Regions from separate parts of the Homo sapiens genome. Here region 1 is linked to region 2. The links are contacts of gene promoters, found by promoter capture Hi-C in human tissues and cell types (Jung and others, 2019). All regions are on one chromosome and are shown on one strand. The core of a region is centred on a gene start or on the middle of the fragment in contact, and the rest is flanking DNA. Distances in the headings are between cores, read along the strand shown.

Evidence for each region. Contacts are between HindIII fragments. The study calls those that stand out against the background at their distance.
Region 1: a fragment that was not itself captured here is called in contact with the fragment with the promoter of EPO in region 2 in 2 of the 25 tissues and cell types used here (liver and mesendoderm cells).

Annotation. Positions count from the first base shown.
Region 1 is chr7:100,883,177-100,886,491 of GRCh38, reverse strand. SRRT (serrate, RNA effector molecule) reads right to left here. Exons shown (of 20, transcript NM_015908.6): 6 at 2,253-2,422; 7 at 1,940-2,124; 8 at 1,654-1,752; 9 at 1,452-1,569; 10 at 1,122-1,279; 11 at 730-791; 12 at 551-629; 13 at 57-245. Among named protein-coding and RNA genes, the nearest start is that of UFSP1, 4.9 kb to the left of the region's middle. RefSeq lists an enhancer at 1-688. The HindIII fragment of the contact is 4,538 bases long and covers 1-3,315 here.
Region 2 is chr7:100,719,196-100,722,536 of GRCh38, reverse strand. It overlaps EPO (erythropoietin), which reads right to left and starts at 2,069. Exons shown (of 5, transcript NM_000799.4): 1 at 1,544-2,069; 2 at 834-979; 3 at 489-575. The coding sequence starts at 1,556. The HindIII fragment of the contact is 31,866 bases long and covers 1-3,341 here.

The DNA.
Region 1 (3,315 bases), core at 738-3,237, 160 kb before region 2:
CCACAGCAGAGGCACTACCAGTTGCTTCTGACAAAGTCCTTTGGGGAGTCACTGACCGTGGGCAGGGGAGGCGTCCCTGGTTCTGAGGCCCAAAGCTGTGTCCTGTCATCCAGCGTGTGGATCAGCTTGGCCGCCAGCTTGATGTCGTTGCGCACAATCTGCTTGTGCTGGGTGATGCCGTTGATGTTGCGAACGCGCCGGGTCAGGTCCCTGTTCACACCAGGGCTCAGCTCACACTCCCGGAGCTGGAGGGCAGACATCATCAGCAGCTTACCCCACTTACCCCGCTTGCCAGAGAAACAGCAGCTCTAAGACCCTTCCCTCTTGAGCACCAGCGATTGATCAGACTGCGAGCTCCCTGGGGACGGGGACCACATAGGTTCCGTCCATGCTAACGCCCTAGAGCCTTGCCCAGAGACAACGTAGCCAGACAAAACGGTCAAAGAGTGTGCAGAACAACCAAACTATCAGATGAACAAAGTCACACAGAGGTCCCGTGTGGCACAGAGTCTCCCTTCCTCTTCCCCACAGTCCCACCCCCAGCACTCACACGGATGTTCTGCAGGTTCCAACAGATCTCTTTAATGTTAACACTGCGGTCGAAGGTCACCCAGCCACGACGGAAAAACCTACACAAGAAAGAAAATGTTAGCATAGTCAAGCGAGGGAGTTGGTGTTGGCCATTAACGTTCCCCTGCACTTTTCCCTCCAACGCACCGAGTTACTCACCTCCTCTCTGGCTGGGGCTCTGAGAGCGCCACCCGCATAAAGCCTGGGTACCTTTTACAAAGCTGCAAGAAGCAGAAAAGCAGCCCCACAGTGACTCAAGGATTCATTCGCTTCTTCCTCCAATCCCCCACTGCCCTCAGAACCCTAGGGACTAACTGCCTTATCACTCTTCCCATCCTTGGGCAGGGAAAAACCACTAAAGGGCTTCAGAACACCAGCACCTGAAAGCCAATGGCGCTATCAGGACTAGTCCTCGGAGGCCATGGAACCTGGGGAAGGGGCCTCCCTAGCAGGTGAAACGGGGGCATCTGTCACAGGCAGGGCCCCACTGCCTTCCCTCTACCCTCCACTTCTCCATCAGCCCTGCCCTGACTCCACGGGTCCCCACTCACGGAGATGATCTCGGCCCGGGAGATGTTGGGCGCGATGTTGCGCATGAAGAGGGAGCAGGTCTTATGCAGCGGCCGCGGCTTGCACTCCAGCCCCGCGGCGTCCTTGGGCTTCTCCCATTCTTCTTCCTTGGGCTTCTCCTTCTCCTTGAGCGCTTCTTCTAGGCAGGAAGGGGGGTAGGAAGGAGTTGGTGCATTTTTATTACTGATTGTGGTGGGGAGGATACAGAAGCTTTCCCCTAAAAGCCACCCACCCTCCCGTCAATGTCGCCAACCTCTCACCTCCCCACCCGCATTAGGAGAACGCACTTTAAAGCAGAAAAGAAACCCTACCGGCCTCCTCCTTCTCCTCCTCAGCCTGGCCGCTCTCTGACTCCGACTCAGACTCTGACACGCTGCCCTCGTCAAAGCTGTCGTCACCACTGTGCTTCCGGTTCCGCTTCTTGCTACTCTGTGTGAGCCACAGCAGAGGGGACAAGTCAGCGTGCCAGAACCCCAGCCCCAACACTCTGACCCCAGGCCACAGACACCTCACCTTTTTGGCTTCCTTCTCGGAGTCTTCTTTCTTCTCTTCCTTGTCCCCATCACCCTCCGACTTCTTTGTTTTGTCATCATTAGAACTGTCATTCTCAGCCTATGGTAAGAGACAACCACTGGGGATGTCAAACCTCCCCTCCCACCTTTATCAGAGGGCCCCCACCCCCACAGCTGAGGCCACAGGTTCATTTTCCCCAGCCCCCTACTTCTAGCTCCTATGGACCCCTACCCGCCCCCCTCCCCCAGGCTGCCAGGGACAACACTAGGAGACCCAGGGCTCGGACCTGCTTGCCGTCTTCCTTCTTCTCATCCTTGTCGTTGGTTTTGCGCTCCCCGTCCCCTAGGCCTGCTCCAGCCCGTCCTTCTTCTTTCTTGCTGGGCTCCCCAGGCTTTCCTGCCTGCTCCTCCTCCTCCTCCTGCTCCAGGATGCGAAGATCATTCTCCGTGCCTCCTTCCATCTTAATCACGGCTACCAACAAAGGGAACAGAGGTCATGACCCCAGGGCCCTGGCTCCTGTCAACCGGCTTCTACCTGATCCCCAGACACCCCCACCCCCATGGGGCCCAGATGCCTGCCACCCCTCCAAATCCGCACACCTGCATCCAGCATCTTGACAATGGCATCAGCTTTGTCTATGTCCAGGAGAAGGTTATCAAACCAGCCAGTCTCCATGAGGGACAGGAAGACCCTCAGTCGGTTTTGCAGGGCCCCCCGGGCCTCCTGCCGACGCTTCCCCACCTCATCTGGGTGGTACTTAGACCGAAACCTGGGAACGAAGCGGGGGAGGGAAAGACAAAACAGTTATTGGAAGCCAAGGCCAGGATGTGGGAAGGGGCCCAGGAAAGACAGGGCATATCCCCCTTCCTCTCACAACCACAAAAGGTCATCAAAATAGAGAGATTAAGGGATAGGGGTGCGCTAGAACCACCCAACACCCCAAAAGGAACCAGAAGTTGTGTTCTGTGAAGATTTGGGGGAGAACCAGGAACTAAGAGCTCTGGATTTGGGAAGACCAATGACTACAGGGGGACGCCAGGGTAGGAGAGGCAGATTTACCACTTTAAATCTCTGGGAAACACTAACGTAGTAAAAAGGTGTCATTTCCCAAAGCTTCAGAGAGGAAGGCTCAGGAAATAGCAGGCCCTGAAGAACCTCCCTCTCCTCACCAACCCCAAACTGCAGTCATTCAAAAACTGCTCCCGCCAACTCCCTCCACCCCGAGGTGGAAGACAGAGGGCCAGATAGCAAAAGCCCAGAGGCAGGGCACCTTTCTCCACCCGTGGGAAGATAAGCAAGACGGTGAAGGGACAGGAAAGACCGAAGGGAGACACTGGAGTGCCCTTTAGAGCCTCAGGTCCTGCCCACAGGGGGAGAGAGAGGAGAGGGCTGGAAGGTTAGGGAGAAGAAAAATAAAACATTTCAAATAGGACCTCAGAGGGAAAACAGAAGAAATGAGGAGTATGAGGAAAAGGGGAAAGGGAGGAAAGGGGAGAGTGTGAGAAAGTCCCAGAAACCGAAAACAAAGGGAAAAACTAAAGATCAGAGAGAGAAACTAAAAAAACCAACAGGGAAGAAGGTGGTGTTAGGCAGGGAGCAAGAACAGAAACAGAGAAGAATGAAGGTGCTGAGAGATTAGGACAAAGACACAGAGCAATTCGA
Region 2 (3,341 bases), core at 820-3,319:
ATGAATGAGTGAGTGAGTGAGTGAGTGAATGAATAATGAATGTATTCCATACAGCCCTCATTATTTTTCTTTTTTCTTTTCTTTTTTGAGACAGGGCCTCACTCTGTCACTGAGGCTGGAGTGCAGTGGTGTGATCACAGCTCACTGCAGCCTCAAATTCCTGGGCTCAAGCGATCCTCCCGCCTCAGCCTTCCAAATATCTGGGACTACCACCATGCACCACCTCACCTGACTAATTTTTTTAAATGTTTGTAGAGATGGGGGATCTCACTATGCTGCCTAGGTTGGTCTGAAACTCCAGGGCTCAAGCAATTCTCCCATCTCGGCCATCTCAGCCTGGGATTATAGACGTGAGCCTCTGCGCCCAGGCAGCCTCATCTCTGCTGCTCCATTTTACCTTTCCCTCGATCATTCTCCCTTTCATCCAAAATCAGGCTCGCAAATGAGATTCTCCAAAAGAAAGGAAAAAAAAAAAAAAAGGAACTCACCTCCATCCTCTTCCAGGCATAGAAATTAACTTTGGTGTCTGGGACAGTGATATTCTCATTCAAGCTGCAGTGTTCAGCACAGCCCGTCTGAAATGCACACAGCCCGGGGAGTCAAGGGTCCCTGAAGGCTCTGGCCCTGGCCCACAGGCCGTAGGATCTGCTGGCTTTGCTCCTTGCCTAGTTTCCAGGTATGGTTTGGGGCCACCAGACTTATTCTTATGTAGGGGGGCAGTGTCTAGCTTCCCAACTCCACCCCAAACCAAGTGCCAGGTTCCTGGATCTGGGAGGAGTTCCCTGAAGCCCTGAGCGTGAGTTCTGTGGAATGTGCTGGGGAAGGGGTCTCACCGTGATATTCTCGGCCTCCTTGGCCTCCAAGAGGTACCTCTCCAGGACTCGGCTGTCACAGATGAGGCGTGGTGGGGCGCCCAGGACTGGGAGGCCCAGAGGGAGCGACAGCAGGGACAGGAGAAGCCACAGCCAGGCAGGACATTCTAGAACAGATAGCCAGGCTGAGAGTCAGGCGGGGAGGGAGAAGGGTGGCTGTGGAAGGACAGCTTCCTTCATCCCCACGTCTCTGCCCCAGCTCGTCCTTCCTGTCCCCAACCATGCAAGCACTCAGGTGCTGCCTCCCTGGCCTTCATTCAATCCTGCTGCCGTGTGCACACCCCACCCCCAGCTACCAGCATCCACTTCTCCGGCCAAACTTCAATCCTGGTGTGACAGAGGCTTCCCCTCTGGCAGATAAGTGGTGGCTCCAGCGCCCAGGTTATCAGCTTATCAGCTTCCTCTCCACTGGCACAGCAGAACCCCCAAACCTTCTTCCCCTCAACCCCCAAACTGTGTCCCCTTCACAGGTCAGGTTTTTGCCATCCCCAAGGACTCCCCCAAGTCCCCGCTGGCACGTGGAGGCTGCCCCACCCCCCTCCCCCTTCCGGGGTCCTTGACAAGTCGCCGGTCCTTGAACCCAGCCACCTCCTGGCCAATAGCCGGGGCGCTAAATCCCCGCTCAAACAGGGACCCGGGCGGGCGGGAGCGCCCAGCCCGCGAGTACTCACCGTGCACCCCCATCTCCGCGCCTGGCCGGGGTCCCTCAGCGACCTGGGGCGCGCCGGGTGACCACACCGGGGGCCCTCATCCCGGGAAGCTCGGCGGTGCAGGGCCAGCCCCACGGGCCTGGAGGAGAGGGCGGCTGTCCAGGGGGCGCGGTGTCGGAGCAGAGCGGGCGCGGTGGCCCCGGTCCGGCTCCGGGAGGACAGCGCGGTGCGGCGCAGCGCAGCGAGCGGCCGGGGTGGCCCAGGGACTCTGCGGCTCTGGCCGGGGGTCGGGGCTGTTATCTGCATGTGTGCGTGCGCGGGTGGGGGTGGGGGAGAGGCTGTGTGCGTGAGGGGTCGCCAGGGGTAGGGGCCACCCGGGGTCAGAGCAGGGGCAGGACGCCTGGGTTGAGGCTCGCCGGGGCGTGAGCGGGGCTGCTGCAGACGTGCGTGTGGGTCATGGGGGCTGCTCCCGGGCCCTGGGTCGCGGGAGGGGAGTGCAGCCGGTTGCGCACCCTTGGGACTGGCGGAGCGTGCTATCTGGGAAAGGCTGGGCTCCCGGACACCTCCCCTGGGGGGCATCCCGGTCTTGGGCGGAGACTCAGAGATGCCTGGGTTGCTGAGTTCCGCAAAGTAGCTGGGTCTGGAAGCCCAGAAGCTTTAGGGAGGGGCAAATGAGTGGTCTCCCTTCCCACAATCCCAGGACATGTTCTAGAAACAATGTTGACCATGTTGAGGAATTTGATGGGGGCAAATAGGGCAAGAAATTTGGGGTTCTTCCTCCCCACCTCACTCCTCACCGTCTAGTACTCTGCAAACCCAGACACTTAACTTTTTTTTTTTTTTCTGGAGATGTAGCCTCCCTATGTTGCCCAGGCAGTGCAGTGGTGCCATCTCCCGTTCACTACAACCTCTGCCTCCTGGGTTCAAGCAATTCTCCTGCTTCAGCCTCTGGAGCAGCTGGGACTACAGGCACACCTTTACACCCGGCTATGTTTTGTATTTTTAGTAGAGATGGGGTGTTGCCATATTGCCCATACCGGTCTTGAACTCCTGACCTCAGGTGATCCACCCTCCTCGGCCTCTCAAAGTGCTGGGATTGCAGGCGTGAGCCACCGCACCCAGCCCCCACCCCAGACACTTAACTTTTAGTGCACAGAGCACACAGTCCATTGTGCAGGACACACATGCACCTTGACATCTGTTTATTTGACCTGTGGTGTAGGTTAGCTAGGCTGCATTGCTGAGTTCTTAAGAACACTGAAATACAGCTAACACCAAGAGTGATGGGGGCTGGGATTTACAGCTAAGGTTTTATGGCTTCTGGAAACCCTGAGCCAGAGGAGTGAGATTCCCAGAGCAGGAGACCAAGACTAGCTGGTCTCTCACACCTTAGAAAGTGGCCTCGTCCTTGAGCCCTCAATGTCCTCATCTGTCAAATGGGTGTGGTGAAACTACCAGCCTATCCCATTCAGGTTTCATAAAAGACAGGAAAGGTCCAGGCGCCGCAGCTGACACCTATAATCCCAGCACTTTGGGAGACCAAGGCAGGAAGATCCTTTGAGCCCAGGAGTTCGAGACCAGCCCGGACAACATGGCAAGACCTTGTCTCTAAAATAAATAAATAAATAAAAAATAATTAGTCAGGTGTGGTGGCTCACGCCTGTAGTCCCAAATATGCAGGAGGCTAAGGCAGGAGGATCACCTGAGCCCAGGAGTTCGAGGCCGTAGTGAGCCATGATCGTGCCACTGCACTGCAGCCTGGGCGACAGAGTGAGAGCCTGTCTCAAAAACAAAAAAAGACTGGAATGTGTAGATCTGA